2 separate regions of the Homo sapiens genome follow, and region 2 is linked to region 1. The links are contacts of gene promoters, found by promoter capture Hi-C in blood cells and fetal thymus (Javierre and others, 2016). All regions are on one chromosome and are shown on one strand. Each heading gives the region's core, a stretch centred on a gene start or on the middle of the fragment in contact. The rest is flanking DNA. Distances are from core to core; before and after follow the strand shown.

What was found. The method cuts DNA at HindIII sites, captures the fragments that hold promoters and counts their contacts. A CHiCAGO score of 5 or more calls a contact.
Region 2: a contact is called between a fragment that was not itself captured here and the fragment with the promoter of UAP1 in region 1, in 1 of 17 cell types (monocytes). The highest score is 5.1, in monocytes.

What each region holds. Positions count from the first base shown.
Region 1 is chr1:162,558,030-162,563,806 of GRCh38, reverse strand. It overlaps UAP1 (UDP-N-acetylglucosamine pyrophosphorylase 1), which reads right to left and starts at 2,085. Exons shown (of 11, transcript NM_001324116.5): 1 at 2,030-2,085. UAP1-DT (UAP1 divergent transcript) reads left to right here and starts at 2,454. Exons shown (of 3, transcript XR_426859.4): 1 at 2,454-2,569; 2 at 3,155-3,332. RefSeq lists a silencer at 1,597-2,496. The HindIII fragment of the contact is 14,107 bases long and covers 980-5,777 here.
Region 2 is chr1:162,326,889-162,332,665 of GRCh38, reverse strand. The region is part of intron 4 of NOS1AP (nitric oxide synthase 1 adaptor protein); the gene reads right to left. Among named protein-coding and RNA genes, the nearest start is that of MIR556, 13 kb to the left of the region's middle. The HindIII fragment of the contact is 1,212 bases long and covers 1,625-2,836 here.

The DNA.
Region 1 (5,777 bases), core at 836-3,335:
TGCTCTGTCTGATAAAAGGCATACACAAACATATTACTATAACATTTTAAGATATAAACCAAACTTTTCCTAAAAGATCATTAGATACTCCTCCACCTTCAGACACTTGGGAAAATGAATCCATGCAAATAAGATACCTCATAGGGCCGGGCGCGGTGGCTCACGCCTGTAATTCCAGTACTTTGGGAGGCCGAGGCGGGCGGATCATGAGGTCAAGAGATGGAGACCATTCTGGCCAACATGGTGAAACCCCATCTCCACTAAAAATACAAAAATTAGCTGGGCATGGTGGCACGCGCCTGTAGTCCCAGCTACTCAGGAGGCTGAGGCAGGAGAATCGCCTGAACCGGGGAGGCGGAGGTTGTAGTAAGCCGACATCACGCCACTGAACTCCAGCCTGGCGACAGAGTGAGACTCTCCGTCTCAAAAAATAAAAATAAAAAAAAAAAGGGTACCTCATAGGTTAAACTTTGATATCTGGGCGTAAACCACTGGTAACATGTGTTCATCTACATGTTGTATAATGTTCATAATGTAACGACCATACTTGAGTTTTGGACAAGCACAATTCATCTATTATATTTATTTGAGGCAGATATAAGCACCTTCATGCCACAAAAATAGTAGCATGTTTCCCATTAACGATGTTTAGAGGCACGTGTAATGGTAAGCAGCAATTAACAGAAGAGTTAAAAGATATGGATTTTTATTTTGACAACCGAAATCTGAAAAAGTTGAAAATCTGCTCGAGAAATTATGACAAAACTTGGTACATGCCCACAGCCTAATCCATCTGCATCAAAATATATGAAAAATTTGGTAATAATCTACCATTATCAAATATATTTTTATTAGAATTTAAATACCAGTATTAAAGAAATCCAGTATTTCTCCCTCCTTTTCTGGCTTCCCCCACCCAGCCCCTATCTCTGCTGGTATACGTATGCCCTCGAAATGAATAAGTAAACCTCTTAAAGCTTTTGAAAAACAGTATCAGAGTTGAGACATAACCACCAACTGAATCCTATAAATGCTTGGCAGCACAGCCTATGAAGTCTTTCTTTGCTCCAGCTAAGTGAGCCAACTGACTAACCGTGAAGGAATAGACAACTGCCTTGAGTTTCCGGCGAACTCTTGGATCCACACCCAGTGAATTTCACCTAAAAGTCCTTAAACTTTTGCAATACCAAATGACACACACATATGATCATAATCCTATTACCTGATTTCAGATTTCATAAACCATGTAGAAGTAAGTGTAGCACAGCGACAGGCCAAAGTTCAAGCAGCCATATGTTCAGCATACGTGTGCTCAGCCCTCCAATACCATCCTTCTGCTTGGCCAAGAGAGGGGAAACCCAGAAATTTCAATTCTCTCTCACTACCAGTATCATGGCAAACCAAACCAAAAAAAAGAAAGAAAAAAGTGGCAAGCAAACAGGTTTTGTCCCACTGTCCTGTCCTCCAAATGTATCCCCTGTCTTTGTCAGACCTCTCAAATCTTTTCCTCATATATTCAAGACACACCAACTCGCTTCCACCTGACAGTGCCAACGATCTCCTGTCCCACTACAGGCCCCCACACTTGGTATAACTGTCCACAAGGCCCTAGCCTGAGAGCCTCGAGGTCTCTACTGCCCACCCGGGAGAGGCCCCACTCCCAACCCCACACGCCTACACGACCCCCTCGGACTCAGACACTGGCCCAGACCTCCTCCCACAACGCCCCCAGTCCATCTGGGGCGCGCTCATTCCATCCCTGGCCCCGCCATCCACCCGGCTGCCCAGCCCACACACCCTCTCGCGGGGTGGCGGAGGATGGGGTGCGACTGCGGGGCGCACGGGCTGGGGTGTGTGTCTGCGGGCGAGCGGGAGGCTCCTCGGCGTGTGCTCGGCTGCCCGCGCTGTGCACGTTCGTGCGACGCGTGTCCACGTCTGAGCGCGTGGCCGTGTGTGCGGTGGGGCCAGGCCCTCCGCCCGCCCGGGTCCCGAGCCCCGCCGTCTCCTCGCTGGGCTGGGAGCCCCTCACCTTTCTCGGCGCGACCGCAGCTACGACCGTCTCCAGCTCCTTCCGCGCGGCCACTCATCGGCGTCCCGCGCTCGCTCCGAATATATACCCTCATCCGGGGGGCCGCGGCGGCGGGGCGGGCCGGGAGCGGGGGCCAAGTGGAGCGCCAGCCCCGGCCACCCCGCCCCTCTCGCCACGACTAGTGGCTGCCGACGCCTGAAGGAGTGGAAGCCGACCGCCCAGACACGTCAGCGCCGGGAGCACAGACGACGACGCGGACGCGGAGGCGGCCGCGGCCCGGGGCGCCGGGGCGGGGCTAGGGATGGGGGCCGGGCATGAAAGGAGTAACCCACCGGGCCGGGGCGGGGCCTAGTGCGTCACTCATTCTCTGGCCCAATGGGAATAGTTCTGGAGCGCAGTCGGCTGGCGTCCCGGTCCCTCCTGCGCACTAACTGAGGGTGAAGGATGTCGGTTGGGTCTGCTAGGAGGGGCCAGGAGCCGGCCGGCAGAGAGCGGCTCGTGGGTCCCAGGACCCCTGACGTCCCTAGGTTGTACTGGGAGGTGCGAGCCCGAGGCTCTTAGTCGGCCCAGCGGCACGGGGCACAAGCGGGCCACAGAGATGGGCAGGGAGCTGTGTCCCCAGGGTGGCGGATTTCCGAGCCACCCACGCGGGTGGTTGGGAAAGGGCGGTGGATTTTCCTGCGGAGAAACTTTCAGGGCGGGCCTGGCGCGCTCTCTGACCTTGGGCTAGTTATTTTGTGTGCAGTTCACAAGATGCCTGGCCGGGCTCCAAACTCGCTCTCTGTTTGGTTGTGTTTTGGCTCCCAAGAAGGCGAAGCCAGGCCTTTTTTCTTTTGCACAAACAGACAGGAAAGGAGAGAGGAAATGCAAGCAAAGGTAGTAGGTAACCTAAGGTAGTATAAGCCCGGGGTCATCTTTGTGAGTTTGCAGACTTAACGTCGCTAGGCCTCAGTACTCTGCAGAAAGATGGTGGAGGACCTAGATGACCTCCCAGGCCATTCCAGGACCAGTGTTTACAGTCCTGTTACATAACCTAGTGTGGGTGTGCACACACAGGTTATTATATGTTCAGCACTGTGCCCTTGGAAGCTATGTTTACATTTAAAGTTGTGTTGCATTTTGCAGCTTTTGCAAGAAGTGGAATATGTTGAAATACGAAAATACCTAGATTTAACATACCACCTATCATAAAGAGATTCAGGCGCCTTTCTTCTACTTTCTTGGGTGCAAAGGCCTTTTCATTCCCTTTACCAATTGCATAATCACCCACTGCCTCAAGTAACAACAGAAAAACTTAAACTTGGTAAGTAATGCTGGTAGATTTACATTCAGGAGATTGAATACTCTCCATCTCTCATGATCCTAGAACTTCCTTCGTTTCTTTGAAAGAAGAATAGTGTAGTGATTGGTTTATAGTGTAGTGATTGGTTTCTTAATCATGGGATCTGAAGACAATTTCAGCTTTATTGCTTGTGATCTTTGGCAAGCTACTTGTGCTATCAGTTTTCTCATCTATAAAAAACAGACAATAAAGATGAAAATGCCATTTGGTGGTTGTATTAAACCAATCGATATAAATGAAGTATGTAAAACAGTAAACACTAAATAACCTTTAGTTATTATTTATTATTGAGCACTTATTAATTCAAACTAGGAGACCCAGATTCAAAATCAGTCTACGCTTACTAACTGTGTGACTTTGGGTAAGTCATTTAACCACTCCAAACTCCAATGTCCTTTTATGAAATGAAGCTAATACCTATTTCACATGGGTATAGTAAAAAATGAGAAAGAACCTAAGATAATGTCTGGAATATTATAGGCATTCTATAAGTCATAGATGAATGACTGAGTAAAGAGCAAAATTATTAGTTAGCAATCCTTTAAAGAAAAAAGATAGAACTGAGGTCCAGCTCAATGTTTTTAATGAACTACTATAAAATCACATTTGTACTTTTACCCTTTTTTGCTGAAGTTTCATTTGTTTGTTATTCTGGTTACTAGGCATAAGAGGGGCCATAATCTCATCTTGCCAGCTAAATGTCCAGAAATGTCTAACACTAGAGTTATTTCTGTCCTTCGAAATACTTTTTATATACATGGTCTTTTAAGAGCTGATTGAAGAAAACAAGGCAACGATGTTCACACTACCTATGATTTTTTGACATTACACCAAAGGTATCAGCTAATGAAGTTAGACAACAGAAATCCTAAGAGGCTTATAAATTAGAAAAAATATATAAGAATTAAAAAATTATTTTTTAAGAATTTTAAAAAGTCATAAAACTACTTCGACTTGCAAATGACAAGAGAGAATACCTGGAAAGCCCTTGAGAGTCAACAATAAGACTAACAAACCACAGAAAAATTTTGGTTAGTGTATTAGTCCGTTTTCACACTGCTATCAAGAGATACCCAAGACTGGGTAATTTATAAAGAAAAGAGGTTTAATTGACTCACAGTTCTGCATGGCTGCAGAGGCCTCAGGCAACTTACTATCCTGGTGGAAGGCACCTCTTCACAGGGCAGCAGGAGAGAGAATGAGTGCTGAGCAAAGGGGGAAGCCCCTTACAAAACCATCATATCTGCCAGGCGCGGTGGCTCACGCCTGTAATCCCAGCACTTTGGAGGCTGAGGCGGGCAAATCACGAGGTCAAGAGTTTGAGATCAGCCTGGCCAACATAGTGAAACCCTGTCTCTATTAAAAATACAAAAATTAGCTGGGTGTGGTGGCACGCACCTGTAGTCCCAGCTACTTAGGAGGTTGAGGCAGGAGAATCGCTTAAACCTGGGAGGCGGAGGTTGCAGTGAGCCTAGATTTCACCACTGCACTCCAGCCTGGATGACAGAGCGAGACTGTCTCAAAAAAAAAAAAAAAAAAACAGATCTAATGAGAACTCACTATCACGAGAACACTATGGCAGAAACCACGCCAGTGATTCAATTATCTCCACCTGGTCTGGCCCTTGACACATGAAGATTATTACAATTCAAGGTGAGATTTGGGTGGGGACACAGAGACAAACCATATCAGTAAGGTAGCAAGTTATAAAATGAACATATAGAAATCAATAGCTCTCATATACACACATTATAACATTTAGAAGACACGATGGTGGAGAAAATCCCATTTATAACAGCAACAAAAAAAATTAAGTATAAATTTAGCGCAAAATGTGCAAAATCTGTGTAAGGAGAGTTATAAAAGATGCCTAAAAGCCACACAAGATATTTGATCAAATGAAAAAATTCTGGAGCTATTTCATGTGTGTTGCGGATATGAACAAATGACTAAATAAATTGATTTTGGTCATTGTGCTGTGGTTATGTAAAAGAATGTTTATGTTCCTAGGAAAGACATACTAAAATATTTAGGGGTAAAAGAATATGATGTCTGTAATTCTTAAATGGCTCAGAAAGATGAGGAGCAATGGCTTACGCCTGTAAGCCCAACACTTTGGGAGGCCAAGGCGAGAGGATCACTTGAGCCTAGGAATTTGAGACTAGCCTGGGCAACATGGCAAAACCCCATCTTTATTAAAAAACATAAAAATTAACCGGGCATGGTAGTATGTGCCTGTGGACCCAGCTACTCCCAAGGCTGAAACAGGAGGATCGCTTTAGTCCAGGAGGTTGAGGCTGCAGTGAGCTGTGATCATGCCACTACACTGCAGTATGGGTGACAGAGTGAGACCCTGTCTCAAAAAATAAATAAATAAAAGGCTCAGAAAGAAATATATGTGCATAA
Region 2 (5,777 bases), core at 981-3,480, 230 kb after region 1:
AGAGATGCATACACGTTTTCTGATGCCTGTTTACAATTATCCCCAAATGCAGAAACTTAGGGAACCAGCAATGTTTACCACATTGGGAGGGACTAAGATACTCTTAGTTCCTTTGGTGATAGTGATCCCACTCTCTGTCCCCTCTCTGCCTGGACCACAGCATCCATGTGTTCATTCCATGATTCAACCAATGCCACTGAGTGCACACTGTGGGCCAGGCACTATCCCAGCAGCCAGGGTCACAACAGGAACAGGACAGAAAAAGCCCCTGAACTCATGGAGCTTACACGTAGACAATGCAAATAAGCAAATATAAAATAAGTGCTATGAAGAAAAATAAGGCAGACTAAGGGATGGAGCATGATGGGGGCTATTTTAGACAGGGTAGCCAGGGAGGTCACACTGAGAGGCTGAGATCTGAATGGGGTAAGGGAGACAGTCACTGAGACACCTGGGCCAAACCATGGCAGGAAGTGGGAATAGCAAGTTTACAAGCCCTGCAGTGTTCAGAAGGTATTAAAAGCATTCAAGGAACACCCAGGGAGGCTCAACGGAGTGTGGTTCAAGTGGAGTATGGTCAGCAACAAGGTAATAGATGCAGCCAGAGGCCAAAATGTAGAAGGCTTTGAAGGTCGTGGCTTATATTCTACGTGAGATGAGAAGCCATCGGCTTTTAAGCAGAGGACTGACTTGCTTATGCTTTAAACTAAAGGATCATTCTGGCTGCTTGGGGTGGGCAGAGGTAGGAACAAGGGGAGGCTGGAGAAAGGGGGAAAATTATAAGCAAGGCCCTAGAGGCTGCATCTTAAGATGGCTTAGGACAGGGCCCCCCCAGGGCCTCCAGGTCTGACTGCTGTGGGGTCGGTGCAGGGAGTTGGAGCGGGTGCATCAGTGGAATTAGTTTTGGGCAGTCCAAGGAGTGTATTGCTCTTGGTAGCACCTAAGAGGCCACATCATTTCTGCAAAACATTTTTCACCACTAACAACACTGATGGCTTTCATTCAAGGAGTTAACAGGTCTGATTTGTTTTAGTGTAGGTCTGTGCTGTATAGAAGAAAGAGAATGGGATTGAGAGTCTACAACTTCATCTACGACTTTGCCACTTACTAAAAAATAAGTTATGTCACCCCTCAGAGGCTCAGTTTTGTTATCTGTACAATGGGACTACTAATAGTAACCCTTCCAAGAGTTATTGAGGAGGTAGAATAGTTAGTAAAATGCCATCTTACATCCCCTTACTGATATAGCCTCTAAACAGCCTAGTAACTGAGATTCTTGCCACAGGACCCCAAGAAGCCTGGGAGGAAAGTCCAAAAGAAAGGTGGGCACAGAGAGGAAAACAACACTGTGAAAAAACCCAAGTTCACCTTGGGGACTGTAGTTTCTCTGCTACACTCAGCTAGCAGGCATTTCAGTACATCTCACATGTCTATCATCTCTAAATGGTTCTGAAATAGAGGCTGTTTAGTGTGGTTTCCAGTCCCCTATCCTTCTAATGATGTCAAACTGTCTTCCTAACATCAAAGGGACAAATCTACAATTGTATCTCAGCATCTCCTGCCTGAGTTCCAGGCCCATTCAGCCAACCTTCCTGGACATCTCCTCCTGAATGGTTCTCAAGCTTCTCAAATTCCTCATACCCCCGAGTGAATTCATCATATTCCCCATAATTCTCCATGTCCTATCTTGATAAGGGGACACCATACCTACTCAAGCCAGAAACCCAGGTGTCATTCTCAACAGCTTCCTCCATTGTTCCCCAATAGCCATCACTCAGGAGCAAGTTCCTTGCAGACTCGCTCCCTAATATGTCTCTGATTTATGTTTTTCTCTTCAACTCCAAGCTATTGATCATCTAGAGTTCTCATTTTTCACCTGGATTTTTACAACATCCTGTAAACAGTGTGCTGCTCTGCTTCCTAACTCACCTATTGTCAACCCATTCTCTACATTGCCAGCAAAGTGTTATTTTTAAAAAAGACAAATTACATCCCATCATTTTCCTCTTAAAGCCATCCAAAGGCTTCCTACTGCTTTTAGGATAAAGTCCAAACTCCTTAGCATGGTGTACCTACCTTTCTGCAGTCATCTCTCTCCAGAGTCCTGACCTACACAGGCCTGCAGAACTAGGTGTGTGCATCTTCCCAATTCTGCAACTGCTGTGAACACCTTTGATGGCCGCCAAGACTTGGTTCAGAGCAGCCTTCCCCTCCCTTTTCTTCAGCAGTCTGAGTTGCTGAATACCCTGGGGCTCAACGTTGCCACAGCACATATCTCACACTATGATGTTTTTACATGTGCTCCTTGAAGGAACAAGGAACACATCTTGGTATCCCCAGTGCCAGCACAGTGATTGGCACATGGGAGGTTCCTTGCCTGCTTAGAAGGGAGGGAGGTGTTCCAGCTGTCATTAATGCTCATCTATAATGTGATCTGCCTGGCTATTCATTTTCCCCAAGGAAGTCAGATCCAGTTAGTTCAGCATCATACGTAAAACTTCTTGGATTCTTTAGTTAACTTATTCTTATGTAATACCCTAAGGACTGAGAACTGGATTTAAAACTGATACAGCAGATTTGAATGCAAACTGGCATGCCCACAAGACACAGAGATGTGGAAGGAACAGAGGAACGGCAGTAAGCCAAGGTTAACTTAACCTTAACAGATAAAGCATCTTTTCAGAAAATCTGATGAGAACTGTACATGGATGCAGCCACTGCCTTTGGACCACAGCTCTCTGGAGACTGCTCTGCTATATCTGATTTCAGAAACTTAGCGTGTTGTTATTAAAAGTAAATAATCTCTAGCTAACCAAAAAGTCAGCTAGTTAAAGCTTAGAAAAGTTTCCACCAACATAACCAAGAGGCAGAAAGTTTTTCCATGCGACCTCATTCATCAACAAACTAATAAATCCGCAAATTAATGTCTCTTGGGTCCAAATTTCCAGATCAAGAAATACATTCCAAGAACCCTTATTTCTCCATTACTTGGTTTTCTTAAGCACTGTGATTGTGGGGGTGGTAGAAATTGGGGGAGAGTAGAGGAAGGTGAGTGCTCAAGAGAATAGGAAAGATTTCCCTTTTTCTTTCCTTCTTCATCTTTACCCTTAAGTCAGTCTAGCCTAGTTCTGATAATCCTGCTTCCAAAAAGTACCTTAGTCAATTTTCCCAACTTTCACTATAATTATAAAGAGTAGGATACCAAAGTAGTTCATATAATGTTAATAAGGTTTTATTCCCCCTTCAACTTTCCTAAAATTTCTTCTCCTTTAAATTTCTTTTCTCTCTCTCTCTCTCTCTCTCTTTTTTTCTTGGTGAAATCTTGGCTCACTGCAACCTCTGCCTCCCAGGTTCAAGTGATACTTGTGCTTCAGCCTCCTGAGTAGCTGGGATTATAGGTGTAAGCCACCACAGCTGGCCCTAAAATTTCTTACTTTTATTTCAAAATATGTATAGCATTATAATTTTTACTTACTAACAGAACTGTTATGCTTTTACACAGTAATAAACCTTTCTGCAGATTCATCATATGTCCACAGACTTACCATAAATGACTGAAAGAAAAACATTATCTGGAAGAAACTGGATTTTGGGTTTATCATCATGCTGGAATTTAGGTTGACAACGTGATTTTAAAAACAACTAGATTCACCACCAATACCCCCCTTCTCAAACTATTCATCTATAGGTAAACTCGCTTCTCTTAAGATCATAGAAAAACAACAACAACAGCAGCAACAACAATTTAGAGTAGAAAGAAACCTATGGGGTCATAAGGCCTGGATACAAGCCAGCATCTCTGTCTGTCAGGATTCATCACTGATAGGCAATTCACTCTCTAACAAAGTATCTGATCCCTTTTTAAGAGGTTCTAGTTACCAGGAAATTTTCCCTCATGTTGACTGGAATTCTGCCAACAGGAATGCAGTGGAGGAAAATGGCTGAGAACACTGGCCCTGAGGGGGACAGACCTGGATTTCAGCCCAAGCTTTGCCACTTACTAGCTGGGACACCCTGGTCATTATCTCAACCCCCTTCTTGTTCTTCACCTGTGAAACAGGTATGATCATTGTGCTGTACCTCACTCATGCTAGTAAGGTTTAAAGAATGAGTATGTGCAGAGGGGTCAGCTTACAGCAAATGGTTAATAAATGTGAACTGCTCTAATTACTGCCACACTACTGCTCTAGTTCCATCCTTAGGGATCTCAGAGAACAAGGCTACTCCTCTTCCAAATGGCCAACATTTTAATATATGGAAACAATATCATGTTTATATTTACTCCTTTCTTAAGTTTATTTTAAGTTCCGGGGTACATGTGCAGGATGGACGGGTTTGTTACATAGGTAAATGTGTGCCATGGTGATTTGCTGAACCTATCAACCCATCACCTAGGTATTAATCCCAGCATGCATTAGCTATTCTTCCTGATGCCCTCCCCACTCTCCGACTCCTCTGCACTCCTTTCATTTTTAAAGTGAATTACTTCTTCCTTCAACAGTTTCTCAGTTGGCTCATTTTCCAAGTCCCTTATTTCTCTGGCAGGTTTGCACTGTGGAAAGAGCATGGGCTTGGGGATGAGAAAGATCCAGGTTCAAGTCTTAGCTTTGCCATCTTCTAGCTGCTGGCCTGAGGCAAAAAACTCAGTTACATAATCCTTCATTTCCTCATCTAAAATAGGCATATTAATGACTTCTTCATGGTATTGTTTTAAGCATTAAAACACACATACCACATTTTACACAATGCCCAACACATGTTAAGTTGCTTGCTCAATAAATATGAGTTCCATCTTCTCTTAACTTTTTCCGTACATATTCCAACTTGCCAGTGACTATCTTAAAATGCAGCTCACAGAACTGAACTCATTTGTGAGGGATCTGAACAGCACAGAGTATATTTGGATAAATATTTTCTATGCCCTAGAACTGAATTTTTAGCAAAGCATCTCTGATCATGTTTTTTTTCTTCTGTTATAACATCTCATTGCTGGTTCACACTGTAGTCTACTCAAATGCTCAAAGCTAATTTGCGCAACAGCTGTAAGGCAGATTTCCTGAACATACTTGGGTAACTGGTTTTTTAGGACTAGCTCTCAGTGTTCATGATTTCCTTTTCCAAGTTCTCACAGACCATCTGCTTAATGATCTCTTCTAGAATTCTGCCCAGGAGCAATGACAAATTCACTAGTTGGTAATTCCTGATGCAGGTTTGCCCCCTTTCTAAAAACTGCAATATTTTATTTTTGCAATCTTTTTGTTTCTTCTCCATCCCTCATGATTTTGCAAAAGATGACCAATCACTATTTTGCAATCATATTTTTCAGGAACCCAGAAGCCAGTGATTCAGGCCTGGACACATGGTAGTGAGGAATACCTTCCTTTTTCCTCTTGGTTTTGAACTTCGGTTTTTTAAAATTACATATGTTCTAGTGTTTCTAATTTGAAGATCAGTTCTCTACTTGAGAAGAAAAAAACCAAGACAGTTAGAAAAATGGGATTGAGATTTTCCCCTTGCCATGTGCCAACTCTCTCTTCCTTCACACCCCTTTTTCTCTCATCTTCAGCCTTTTCCATAAGCCTAATGCATTCAGGGTTTCAGTTCTCTCAGTAATTGTTGTTCCTTTGCACTCATACTTGTTTTTAAGCTCTGCTTTCCATATTGTATACTTTTCAAGAAGCATTTTATGAAAATCTGGGCAGTCACATGATTTTTCTTCATGATCTCACATTTTTGGGGCCTGACTAGAATCAATTATGTTGTCTTCAAGTTCTCAT